4 separate regions of the Homo sapiens genome follow, and regions 2, 3 and 4 are each linked to region 1. Evidence: promoter capture Hi-C in 16 types of primary human blood cells and fetal thymus (Javierre and others, 2016). All regions are on one chromosome and are shown on one strand. Each heading gives the region's core, a stretch centred on a gene start or on the middle of the fragment in contact. The rest is flanking DNA. Distances are from core to core; before and after follow the strand shown. Region 1 holds the start of AP1M1 (adaptor related protein complex 1 subunit mu 1). Region 2 overlaps EPS15L1 (epidermal growth factor receptor pathway substrate 15 like 1). Region 3 overlaps EPS15L1 (epidermal growth factor receptor pathway substrate 15 like 1). Region 4 overlaps EPS15L1 (epidermal growth factor receptor pathway substrate 15 like 1).

What was found. Contacts are between HindIII fragments. The CHiCAGO score rates a contact against its expected background, and 5 or more counts as called.
Region 2: a fragment that was not itself captured here is called in contact with the fragment with the promoter of AP1M1 in region 1 in 7 of 17 cell types (naive B cells, total B cells, non-activated CD4 T cells and 4 more); the score reaches 9.3 in naive B cells.
Region 3: a fragment that was not itself captured here is called in contact with the fragment with the promoter of AP1M1 in region 1 in 13 of 17 cell types (naive CD4 T cells, non-activated CD4 T cells, naive CD8 T cells and 10 more); the score reaches 12.4 in naive CD4 T cells.
Region 4: a contact is called between a fragment that was not itself captured here and the fragment with the promoter of AP1M1 in region 1, in 3 of 17 cell types (naive CD8 T cells, megakaryocytes and total CD8 T cells). The highest score is 5.4, in naive CD8 T cells.

Annotation. Positions count from the first base shown.
Region 1 is chr19:16,196,483-16,199,692 of GRCh38, forward strand. It overlaps AP1M1 (adaptor related protein complex 1 subunit mu 1), which reads left to right and starts at 1,429. Exons shown (of 12, transcript NM_032493.4): 1 at 1,429-1,586. The coding sequence starts at 1,545. RefSeq lists a silencer at 1,573-1,812. The HindIII fragment of the contact is 4,202 bases long and covers 28-3,210 here.
Region 2 is chr19:16,420,861-16,424,070 of GRCh38, forward strand. It overlaps EPS15L1 (epidermal growth factor receptor pathway substrate 15 like 1), which reads right to left. Exons shown (of 24, transcript NM_001258374.3): 10 at 459-616. Among named protein-coding and RNA genes, the nearest start is that of EPS15L1, 50 kb to the right of the region's middle. RefSeq lists enhancers at 1-49, 50-653. The HindIII fragment of the contact is 1,649 bases long and covers 651-2,299 here.
Region 3 is chr19:16,397,424-16,400,633 of GRCh38, forward strand. The region is part of intron 16 of EPS15L1 (epidermal growth factor receptor pathway substrate 15 like 1); the gene reads right to left. Among named protein-coding and RNA genes, the nearest start is that of EPS15L1, 73 kb to the right of the region's middle. The HindIII fragment of the contact is 852 bases long and covers 1,219-2,070 here.
Region 4 is chr19:16,368,304-16,371,513 of GRCh38, forward strand. All of the region lies in intron 22 of EPS15L1 (epidermal growth factor receptor pathway substrate 15 like 1), which reads right to left. Among named protein-coding and RNA genes, the nearest start is that of KLF2, 45 kb to the left of the region's middle. The HindIII fragment of the contact is 1,834 bases long and covers 693-2,526 here.

The DNA.
Region 1 (3,210 bases), core at 179-2,678:
TGAGGAGTTTCTTCAGACCGCCAATAAAGCTTGTTTAATCCTAAAAGGGTCCTGTTAAGAATTCCTTCATTATCTTGTCATGCTTCAAGGCCCAGGAAAGGCCTAGGCACAACTCTGGGTGGGCTTTTGTTACATCCCAGCCTTTGTATAAGGGCACTGGCTCTCTTATCTTTTAATATTTAACTTAACCCTTGTAATCCCAGCACTTTGGGAGGCCGAGGTGGGTGGATCACGTGAGGTCAGGAGTTTGAGACAAGCCTGGCCAACATGGTGAAACCACGTCTCTACTAAAAATACAAAAATTAGCTAGGTGTGGTGGCACATGCCTGTAATCCCAGCCACTTGAGAGGCTGACACACAAGAGAATCACTTGAACCCAGGAGGCAGAGGTTGCAGTGAGCCGAGATCATGCCATTGCACTCCAGCCTGGGTGACAGAGTGAGACTCCATCTCAAAAAAAAAAAAAAAAAAAAAAGCAAACAACAAAAACCCTCTCTTGGCTGCTTGCTCTGTGCCTTGAGCAAGAATCCTTCCAGCCCAGGAGTCACTTAGCAGTCTTCAAACATTCTAGTTTGCTTCTCTAGAGTTTCGGTCACATTTCTTTCCTAAGCAAAACACTATATAATTACCGAGTTGCAAAAATCATCTTTCCAAACGCCAAAACGGAGATAAGACAGAAAATAAAAGATGTGAGAGGCAGGCATCCTGGGTAAATCACTCTGGTATTGCAGGGTTGGGATCCCCAGGGTACTATGATGGCTAACTGGAACAGAATGCAGGCATTTCTCCAAAGCCCAAGAGTTCATAAAAGCAAATTAAATATGACTCAATGGATTAATCAAGGGCCACCAGTTGCATTACTGATTACTAACTTTGCAGAAATGAAACACGGTATGTTGGGTCAAGGTTCAGTGAGGCTGGTTTTCATAACATTCCAGGCAATAAACAGGCACACTCATTCATTGATAAATGTTGACAATGACAGGTGGTGACTGTTGATAAGGTTTGATTGCCATTCAGAAAGTTTGTTTGACCTCTTTCCAAGTAACCACGACCTTACCTCTCTCTTTTGAGCTTATCACAATTGGTGACTGTACACTTGTTTCATAGACTTCCCCACCAGACTGTGAGCTCCATAGGGCTGGGCCCCAGGTCGGTTTCACCACCAGGCTCTCTCGCCTAACTCGGCCCACGGGAGGCCGTTTCCAGCTGCTCTGGCTCCATAGCTCAGCCTGGCAGCGGCCACTGGGTGCCCTGATTTGGTCGGCCCCGCCCCACCGGGCCTTACTTCCGGGATGCTTCTGGCGGGAGCAAGAAACATGGTTACATACGACGTAATGCGCCTGCGCACAGTCCGTCCTGCGCCTGCGCATTCCTGACAGCACCTCCCGGACCGGACATAACGGTCCCCGCGCGGCTCCCCGAACCGGAAGTGGAGGTGAGCTGTCGCGGGCGGCGCCCGGCCTTGCTCAACGCCCAGCAGTCCCCACCGTCGCTGCCGCCGCCACCGCCCTCGGCCGCTGCCGAGGCCTCCTGCAGCCATCATGTCCGCCAGCGCCGTCTACGTGCTGGACCTGAAGGGCAAGGTACTGAGGGCTCCCCACCCTCCCTGTTGCCAGGCAACCGGCAGGGGCCTCCGCCCGCGGGGACCCACCCTGTTGCTAGGTAACCGGCTTATGAGCCCCATCCTGGTGTGAGGCAGAGAGGCCGGTAGACCTCACCTGAGAGCCCCATCCTGTTTCTGGGTAACCGGGCGGGGGTCTTAAGTGGGTAATCCCCGCCCTGTTGCTACGTAACGCGGTGGGCTGCAGCCACCGCGTTGCCAGGTAACTGACTGCACCGCCCTCTGCTCCCCGGCGCCGGGGCCGGGGGCTCGGGCCTCGGTGGAGGACCCAGAAGCGGGGCCGCAGCCGGCCTCGGAGCCAGGCAGGGCGTCCAGGGGCTGCGCGACCCTTGGCCGGGGGTGGCGAGGCGTGGCGGGGACTGGGTGCTCTCGAGCCAGTCCCGCCTTCTCAGGGCGTTACAGCTTCTGTTTATCGTGCACTTTCTCTCAGTAGGAATTTCTCCACGTTCATTGTGATAGTGAGTTACAAGGATTAGGTGAGGTGAGTGGTGATCACGAGTGCCGTTTTATAGAGGGAGAAACTGAGGCATGGAGAGGTGAAGCAACCTGACCAAGGTCACAATGGTCACAGAGAAGTAGCAAGTCTAGGAGTCCGATCCAGAATCATTCGTTTATTCAGCTGATATCTGGGGAGCACCTACTAATGCCGGGCAGGGTACTAAGCCTGGGGTCGATTTGTGTTTAGCAAAAAACAGTCCCTTTTTTTTTGTTTTGTTTTTGAGATAGTGTCATGCTCAGTCGTCCAGTCTGGAGTGTAGTGGTGCAATCTCCACTCACTGCAACCTCCGCCTCCCGGGTTCAAGCAATTTTCCTGCCTCAGCCTCCCAAGTAGCTGGGATTACAGGCACCTGCCACTACGCCGAGCTAAATTTTGTATTTTTAGTAGAGGCAGGGTTTCACCATGTTGACCAGGCTGGTCTCGAACTCTTGACCTCGAGTGATCCACCTGTCTTAGCCTCCCAAAGTGCTGGGATTACAGGTGTGAGTCATGTGCCAGGGCTCAACAATCTGTGTTCTTACGGTGTTCACAGGCTGGTAGGGGAGATGGATACCCATCTCCAAAAACACAAATAAATGTCAATTGCAGTGGTGTTGAGGGGCGAGTGTGTTATACAGACAGTCAGCCTCAGCCCGAGGATGAGAGAGGGTTTCCCTGAGGAGGGGTGACAAATGGACCAGAGACACCAGGGAGCTGGACATAAACTAGAACCCAGGCATCTTCCCCAGAGGATCTGAGAAAACTTTAAGAAGGGATTGTCCCCACCTTTTAGAAATGGTCCTCTGCCTTCTCCTAAGTCCATCCCAGGTGCAAGGCAGGTGGCTGCCTGGCCTGTTGCATGTGGAAGCAACAAGAACCGGTCCAACAATGTGAAGCCCAACATTGATCAGTGAGAGAAACAAACATGGGTGTCAGGTCCTAGGTGAGGCGGGCAGGGGTGAGCCCTAAAGCAGCTGAGAGTGAAGAGGTGAAATGGCTGCCCCTTCCCGCCCCACCCCACCCCCAGCACTTTCCTGAAGTCCCTTGAGTGGGTGCCTGCTCTGGAAGCCACCCAAAGTCAACAACTGGTGAGACCCAGTGCTGGGCT
Region 2 (3,210 bases), core at 225-2,724, 220 kb after region 1:
ACCCTCCCGCCAGGAGCCAAAGCACTGGCCTTTCCAGAGCAGGGCCTCCTGCCCCCGCCCTCACCCTGCCAGGCCACTCTGCTAGAGGCTCCAAGGCCCTGCTGCCCGCACCTCCCGGAGGCGGCTGTGACAAAGTCCAGGCCTCCTGTTAGAGCCAGCATCACAGCCAGCAAGAATAGGGCCCAGCTGTGTAAGCAAATGGCCTGGGAGCACTTAAGACGGACCAGAGGCCCTTCCTACTGAAAGACAGTGAACTGACCGTCACGGAGCGCGGGCTTCGAGCCTTGGCACGTGCACCTTGCTCAGCCTCTGTCAGGCCAGGGAGAATAAAGGACGCCAGACACAGCGGAAGCCTGTGACAGGCTGGAGGGGGCCCCCTGACCACCACCCTCCACAGTCTTCACCCACAGGCCCCCTGGAGCCACCCACAGCCACAACTGCCACCTGTCCGGCCTTACCATATGTGTGCTAGAAGGTTCTGGGTGAGGCCCGAGTGCATGAAGATCTCCTTCACCTCCTGGCCACTCACGTAGCCATCCAGGTCCAGGTCGGTCTTCAGGAATATCTCATCAAATCGCATCTTGTCTGCCACGGGCACCACCCAGTTCACTGTTGGCTGAAACAGTTTTTGGCAAAACAGTTAATCTGGAAGCTTTTTATGACCCCCAGACACATGCTTTTTGATGATGGGGCGATTAAAGCACTTCCATGCACATTTGGCATCAAACTCTCCTCACTTCCATGAGCCAAGAGGGCAGATGTGATCCTTGTTCTGTAACTGGCAAAACTGAGGCTGAGACAGGTTGAGGCTGGCTCTGTGAAGCTCACCCAGATGCCAGTCTGCACCTCTCTCCACCCCATCACCCGCTCTCCTTGTCCATCCACCCTGCCACCCAGGGTGTGAGGGAGGCTGTGATCTTCAGGGGATGGGTTCAAGCATGCCAGGAAAGACCCTCCCGAGCACCCACTTGGAAGGACCGTCCCTGGAGAACCGGCCCGGCCACATGCCAGCCTCCCTGGTCCTCCCACTCCTCAGCCCGCAAAGGCTGCCCTACAGGCAGCCAAAGTGTCCTGTCCCAGGACTCTGAAGACCACCCTTCTATGTCCCTGCCCCACTCCTGAGACAACAAAGATACCCCCAAGGTGTGAGTACACACACGTCACTGACAGGTAACAAATGAGACACCACCATCCAAGAGGGCCACCACCCACGAGGCCCCACCAACATTCATGCAGCCCCAACCCCACCAGGGCAGATGGAGCCACGAGCCCAGTGCAGCTCAAAGTTCACAGCCCTGGGGCTGGGTCACCCGCTGCACGTGCGACCCCTCTCGCCACCAGCTCACAGTTAACTTGAGAGAGGCAAACGCCATCATGGGTCAACCAGGGCCCGGTCACCTCCTGGTTCAGAGGCATTGAGGCCCCTCAGGCACTCAGGGGCAGGCCCCTTCCGTGGCCTACTCCACCTGCATTACCGCGGGCCTTCAATACACCCACCACGCCACAGTTCACGGCATCTGTGTCCTGAACTCTAGACGTGCTTTTCCTCTTCCCTTTTTTTTTAAATATTTACACAAATCACTCCTTTTAAACAATCTCATAATAGCAATGAGAATAAACACCTGATTGAATTATCTAGATGATGAGGGAGTGGAGAGAAAAAGGACAGGCAAATGTGGCTGGAGGGATCGATTGTTCCTTCTCCACGCAGCAACTGTACAGAAAAGCCACTCCACTCCTCACCTTCAATGAACGCCATGATGCCTGAAACTGCCACTCAAAGTCATTCCTCTCAGTTATGAAAGGATTTCTTAGGCTGGGTGCAGTGGCTCACACCTATAATCCCAGCACTTTGGGAGGCTGAGGTGGGTGGATCACCTGAGGCCAGGAGTTTGAGACCAGATTGGCCAACATGGTGAAACCCCCTCTCTACTAAAAACACGAAAAATTAGCCAGGTGTGGTGGTAGGCACCTGTGATCCCAGCTACTCAGGAGGCTGAGGCAGGAGAATTGCTTGAACCTGGGAGGCAGAAGTTGCAGGGAGCTGAGATTGTGCCACTGCACTCCAGCCTGGGCGACAGAGCAAGACTCCGTCTCGGGGAAAAAAAAAGGGGGGGGGGATTTCTCAAAGAGTTCTCACAGTGTTGACAACCCGAAGATGTCCATAGGATTGAGGAGAAGGGACTCATGGTCAAGACTGGGAAACAATGGTTAAACTCGTTTACTCTTCATGAACGAGTCTCCTGTGATGTCCAAATCTAACAGGCTCCTGATACCAACTCAGGGAAATCAGAAAGCAAGCTTGGGAAACAAGGGATACCATGTGACCCAGATCAGCTTAGTTCAGGGGTTTCACGTAGCAAGTATGTGTGATGAAGTACAGCAAGGACTTGATCAAACAATTTATCAAAATCCATGGAGCTAGGCCAGGCACAGTGCTCATGCCTGTAATCTCAGCACTTTGGGAGGCCAAGGCAGGAGGATCCCTCAAGCCCAGGAGTTCAAGACCAGCCAGCATAACACAGCAAGACCCCATCTCTACAAAATAAATAAATAAATAAAATTAGCTAGGTGTGGTGGCATCCACCTATTCCAGCTACTAGGGAGGCTGAGGTGGAAGGATCACTTGAGCCCAGGAGGTTGAGATAGCAATGAGCCGTGATTGCACCACTGCACTCCAGCCAGGGCAGCAGAGCAAGATCCTGTCTCTTATATATTTAAAAAAAAAAAATCTATGGATCTAATTCAAATGATGAGAGTTCAGATGGCAAGAGCAACCTGATTTTTACTTGTGGCATTGTACTGTGTAAATTTTGTGAGCCTTCTCAAGTCTGGTGGACGTAAAGATGCCAATAAAGGAATTCTAATGAGAAATGGGCTTGCTGCCTTTTAAGTCACGGAGCTACAGCAAGCTAACCTCAGAAGCCAGGGATCACAAAGAGGTAACAGGAGTCAGACAAGCTGAGCTGTGGCGGGACACAGAAACAAGGGGGGTTCTGTGTCCCACGGGTCCCAAGAAGAAATTACGTATGAAATTATAGCTCTGGGATGACAAGAGTCCTAATAATACTTGCTGGGCAAACAAAAGGAACTCACTGCCTGATTTCTGGAGCCTCAGAGTATGTTAGCAGCAAGATTCTGATGCCAAATTGACTATAAACCCAACACGGGGCAGCCTTGCCGTGGAGCTGGCTCTCCCAGTGACAGCTG
Region 3 (3,210 bases), core at 395-2,894, 200 kb after region 1:
TTTTTAATCAATGAGTCAGAAAAAAATAATAAACTTGGAAATGCCATGAAGAAAACTGTAAAGAGCCACTCAACAACAGCAGCACAGGCCTCATTTCAGAGGTGTGACCTTCCTCAATCATCCTTTTCTCGGTGAGTATGTACCTAGGTGGGCATTTGGGAAAATGGAGTTTTCATACCAAGAAACATGCTGGTTGTTTCTGTCCTATGAGGAAATGAGTACTTATGCAGTTAGAATTACTAGAGCATACACAATGCTTTGCATTTTTTTTTTAAAGTGTGTATTTCTAGAAACAAACAGGTTCATTTAAACGAGAAGAAAAAATATTTACTTTTGAAGAGCACATTTTTGTAATGGGAAGTAGTCTGAAAAGGGTGGGTTTGTCATATACATGGGAACAATACAGTTGGTTTAAATAAGGACTCTGTTTTAGTTAATAAAGACACACCCTCAGTGAAAACATGAATGTTTCACTGTGATATTAAAAAAACAGCACAACACCCTCATTGAATTTGGCAGACACACTGGCATTCCTGCGTAGGACTCACAAACCAGTCCAGTATTCCAACCGACCAAAACAAAATCATTAAAAAGCCGGGGCGTCCACAAAAATAGGGACAATGGTGTGGGGAAATGACATCAAAGGTCCAAAAGAAAGTTTCCTAGCAAGGCTGCCACCACCCTGGGGCAGCCAACTTAGGGGTGCAGGACAGTTATGAGAGGTACAGAGTTAAGACAAGCCACCGGTCTGGGCTGTGAATGAGTGTGAATCAGCATGAGTGCCGCTTCCTCGGCCCCCACTTCAGGAGAATGCACCCACATCCCTGCCATCTGATGAACATGGAATGGTTTTTCTTACCTGGGAAAGAATAGCTGGAGCCTCCGACCACAGGGTTTTCCCAAGGTGGGGAAACCAAGCCGGGTTCTTAGACAAGTTAAGTACAGATGTCCACAAGCACTGCAGCTGGAGACAGTGCTGAGTGGACGTCAGGTGCTGACGACCACAAGACACACACGCCCAGCAAGCGTCTGATGGGGGTCTCGGATGCAGATAAAGATGGAGAAGTCCTACTCTAAAGAAGCCAGGAGGCCCACGTGGAAAATCTGCCTTTCACACTGCCCCATGGAAGGAGGAATGTATTTGTTCCAGAAGAAAGAGAGGAATCATGACCTGGATAAAGCAGCGAGTTAAGAATGCCAGCTTGACCTCAGAATGAAAGCTTCTATTTAGTTTGTTTTTAAAGGTAGGATCTCACTACGTTGCCCAGGCTGGAGGGCAATGGCTATTCACAGGTGCAATCCCACTACTGAGCAGCGTGGGAGTTTTGACCTGCTCCGCTTCTGACCAGGGCAGGTTTACCTCTCCTTAGGCGACTGGTGGTCCCCTGCTCCCAGAAGGTACCATACTGATGACTAACTTAGTGTAGACACCCAATCAGCATAGCACACTACAGCCCAGAACTCCCGGGCTCAAGGATCCTCCTGCTTCAGCCTCCCAAGTAGCTGGGACTACAGGCACTCGCCACCATGCCTGGCTCTATTTAGTTTTTAATTGGCATTTATTTATAAGGTTTTTTTTTTTCAGTGTTTTCAGTCGTCACTTGGAAGACTGCCAAGTAACAGTGAACAATGGCAGAGAAGAGACTGAGGTTCTGGGAATGCTGGCTGCAAGCCCCCTGCACTGACAGTCAGGCCTGCAATCACTTTCTCAGGAGTCATTGGCCTGAAGCCACAATCACTCCTTCCCCTTCCAAGGGGAAGCCTGAGACCCCAGCAGGATTCAGGAGGTCAGGGTAACTAATAGTGGTTTTGATTCCATTGCACAGAATCAGAGTGGGAAACGAGATTTCCCTGTTACAAAGATACCATCAACTCTACCCCTTGCAGACCACCTACTAAGGAGAACAGACCCATCTGCCAACTTGGGGGACACGAGTACAGCAGACAAGGGCCAGGATGAATGACACGGCCCTTGGCAGAGATGTAATATCTTGAACAAGTTCAGCAACCAGTGTGAAGTTGTACCCTTCTTAGGAAATACACACGGCAACTCTGAAAGGGGGCTGAAGAAGCTTCTGTGACATTCCCGCCCTTTAGAGGAGTGCTGGGCAGCAGGGGTGTGCTGGGAATCAGTTCTCTCAGAAAAAAGCCCTGGTTTAGAGCTTCTGCCAATTCCTGTGGTGTAAACAGTCTCATCATGGTTGATTTCAAGTTTCCAAGCAACTAGCTCACAAGTTCCTGTTTTTTGCTTTTTGGGGTTTTTTTTTTTTTTTTAGAGATTGAGTCTCGCTGTGTCACCCAGGCTGGAGTGCAGTGGCACGCAGCTGGCCTCAAGCAATCCTCCCACCTCAGCCTCCCAAAGGACTGGGATTACAGGTGTGAGCCATTGTGCCCGGCCAGTTCCTATTTAATAATCGGTTCTGGAAAGTCAATAAAAACTGGCTCCAGCATGCCACTGGGTCTGGATGTGACAGATCAATCAACCTTTCTTAATCTGTCCTCAGTAAGGCCTAAGTCTGGGATGATTTATTAGCTTCTCTCCATAAGTTGATTGGATGGTGAGCAAGAGGTCAATATTCTCATAATCAGATGATAGACAAGAAATAAATATGGCTTTAAGAACCCTGACTTTGGCGGGTGAGGTGGCTCACGCCTGTAATCCCAGCATTTGGGGAGGTCGAGGCGGGCAGATTGCCTGAGGTCAGGAGTTCAAGACCAGCCTGGGCAACACTGTGAAACCTCGTCTCTACTAAAAATACAAAAATTAGCTGGGCATGGTGGCACGTGCCTGTAATCTCTGCTACTCGGGAGGCTGAGGCAGGAGAATCACTTGGACCCGGGAGGCAGAGGTTGCAGTGAGCTGAGATTGTGCCACTGCACTCCAGTCTGGGAGACAGAGCGAGACTCCGTCTCAAAAAAAAAAAAACAAAAACAAAAAAAAAAAAAAACCCCTGACTTTTGAGATAAAGTCACACTGCGTGAGCTTCACATGGAATTTAGTAACCTGAGTAGAACTGTCCAAACATAGGAAGTTCCAGATGTACCACTGTGGATACACTATTCTCAGGGACCTAAAACCCCCAACTTCGACCCACAAGGGAGAACTAAGACACCTCTCTCTCGGCTCTGAAGCAGTCTTGAAGTGTTCAGGAGTAAACAAAAATCTCTCTTCCAAGTATTTATTAAGAAATAGAAACAAGCCAGAAAAAT
Region 4 (3,210 bases), core at 360-2,859, 170 kb after region 1:
ACAACCATCATTGATCCTACACAACAGGGGACACACATGCACAAGCATCATTGATCCTACACAACAGGAGATGGCTACACAACTGTCATTCATCCTGCACAATATGGACACTCACACAACTCCCATTCATCCTACACAACAGAGGATGCCCACACAATTGTCATTCATCCTGCAGAACACAGACACCCACACAACTGTCATTCACCCTACACAACAGGTGATCCCACACATCTCTCGTTCATCCTGCACAACATGCACACCCACACAACTGTTATTCATTCCACACAACAGGTGGTGCCCACACAACCATCATTCACCCTACACAACACAGGCACCCACCTGTCATTCACCCTACACAACAGGCGATCTCACAAAACCATCATTCACCCTACATAACACAGACACCCACCTAACTGTCATTCACCCTACACAACAGGTGATCCCACAAAACCATCATTCACCCTACACAACACAGACACCTATGCAACTGTCATTCACCCTACACAACAGGTGATCCCACACAACCACAACTGTCATTCATCCTACACAACACAGATGCCCATACAACTGCCAGGTTTCTGAGAGTCACGCTGCCTAGGAGAGCAGTGGCCCGGGCGGGGCACCACTCCAGCAGAGCTCATCCAAGGCCACTGACATGTCTTATTCCACCCTCCCCATCCTGCCAGAAAAAAAGCTTAGCTGCGGGGAGAGGGGAGAAAGAAAACAGTATAGGTTCTAAAATTCATCACTGCTCGGGGACTTGTCTTGAAAGAGTGCTTTTCCCCAACACACGTCAACGTCTTCCTCTGGCTCCCATCTAAGACACATGAGGGGAGTTTGTTTTTTACAATGTGACACACGGGACCACGTAAGGGACCTGCAGGCTGGGAGTCCTGCAGGCACCAGCCCCGCGCGCACTCTGCCTTAGATCAAAGCTGTGTCAAGCAGCACAGCCCCGGGAGATAAGAATCTGAGGTCCCTGCGATCGCAGCGTTGAGATTTTCCACTAAAAATATTTACCGAATTTTGAGAAAATCTGCTTCATGCATTGAAGGGAACAGGATGAGGTTTGGTTCTGAACTGTTGAGAAAAGCTGAACAAATATTTACTACGAGCCACTGCTGGCCGCTGTGTTTTCCTGCCCTGTGAGGTGTGTGAGGTGGGCAGGGGGCTGTTGAACCCAATGGCTGTGGCCTCATCTTGCCATTAAAAGAAGAAAGTGGGGAAAAGGTGCTGTGCCTTGGGGTCCTCAAAAGGCAAATATCATTTGAAGTGAGAAATAACAATTTTCTAGAGGTCACCACAAAAGGCTCCCATGACATTTACATAAAACCTGCCAGGCAAGGGCTGCACCAGCCCTGGAAGAAAAAAAAGTGTGTGTGTGTGTGTGTGTGTGTGTGTGTGTAGGGTGGGGTATGTGATTTGGAAATGAATTTACAAATCACAAGCCAGTCTTCATGACAAAAATAATACAGACTGGCAGGTGTCACAATTCTGGCTTCTTTGAAAATTCGCATTTGTTCTCTGGCGGGCACCTTTGACATACCCTGCGTGAACACCCCTGGGTGTCAGCCCCATCCTCTGGGGGGATTTCCAGGGAGAGATGCTATCTATGCATGAGCCAGGCACGGGGAGCCCTGACAGGGCAAGGGGGCCCAGCTTTGTTCCTCCCTACGGAGTGTGCCAATGTCGCAGACGCCACCTCTGCAAAGGGTAGGAAGGCGCCTTGCCCACATGTAACAAGATCCCTGAGAACGCCGTGCAGCGAGTCTGAAAGCTGGTTAGGGGTCGTGCATGAAAGGACCCAAAAGAGCCCCTGGGAGGGGAGCAAGTGAGGCGCAGAGCCCACCAGGAGCTCCCATGGTGGGGGACACTTTTGCTCTCTTTATGGCCAGATTCCCCATTGCCCGAGTGCATGTGATATTTTGCAGTTAGCAGTGGCAGGCAAGGGGCGCGCTGACTCAGGGCTTTGAATAGGAGAGATGAAAGATGAGGGGCCATGTTCACCCCGCCAGAAAAGCAGGGAGGCGGTGCCCAGAGCTGCACCCAGAGCCCCCTTCTGAGGCGTCTGCCCCAGCCCTCACCTCCCTCAGGTGCCAAGCAAGGGGTTGAGGTGTCCTGGAGGCAGGTACACCCGATGTCCCCAGGGCGATGGCTCCCGTCTGTTCACACCTATACTCAGATGCTGGGGTGGGAGCCCAGCCACTCTAGGCCTGCACCCCACCCTGCAGCCCCCCAGGCCTCAGCATTTGCACCCCACTGAACACCAGATGATAATCGAGTCACACGACACTCCCTGGATCCGCCTCTGGGTACAGTGTGCCCAGGAAGGCAAATGCTTCTATTTTCAAACTCAGTGGTCTTTACAGAACAGAAAGTGCTCCAAACGGCAATCTGCCTGCAGTCAGTTTAAACATACAAGGCTGACATTCCTCCCTCTCAGAGTGGGACCGTTCCTTGGCACCGTCAGCAGGTCCCACCCAGCCCTAAGACAGACCTTCCAGAGGGCTCAGACGGAAGCTCTGAAGCTTCCTTGAACACAGCAGTGCTGGGGGATGGGGGGCGTGGGCAGGAAAGAGGGACTCCACCTGGTTGGCCGTTTTAGGCTCCTTGGGACCCCCTCCCCATCCTGGCTGGCAGGCAAGTGCCAGAATTTTCCAGGCCCCTTGAGATGGTGGAACCACTTGTCCCATTGTAGAATTTCACATGTACCCACCGGATTATCTCTCTGAGATCATCGTGGGAACGAAATTGAAGTAGTTAAGTTCAAGGCTGAGGTGCTAACCGCAGGGTTCAAATGGAGATGCCATTTTTAAAGTGGATCTTGTGCAATCAACAAAAGGTTTTGGGACCCACATGGGCACATGATGGGGAGAGGTCACTGAGCCCTGGTTTCGATGTTGGCCTGGCATTTCAGAGAAGTGGGAGAGCTGGCAGCACTTAGGACCTCAGGGCTTCCTCGGTGGCTGCATCCTGTGTGGCACCCCCGGCAGGGAGGTCAAGAACTCACGGCCACCCTGGGTGGATGCCACACACAGGTACGGGAGGGGCTTGTTTGCAAGGGGAAGAATGACTTTTGTCTTCTTCTTTTGTTGAGAGAGCTGCTCAAATCAAACAGGACAGCCGCTGGTTAAACTTAGGTAAAAGCTGTTCGTTAGTGCAACTGTGGGGAGGGGGCGAAAAGACATGCTCATCACCATCACCTATGCG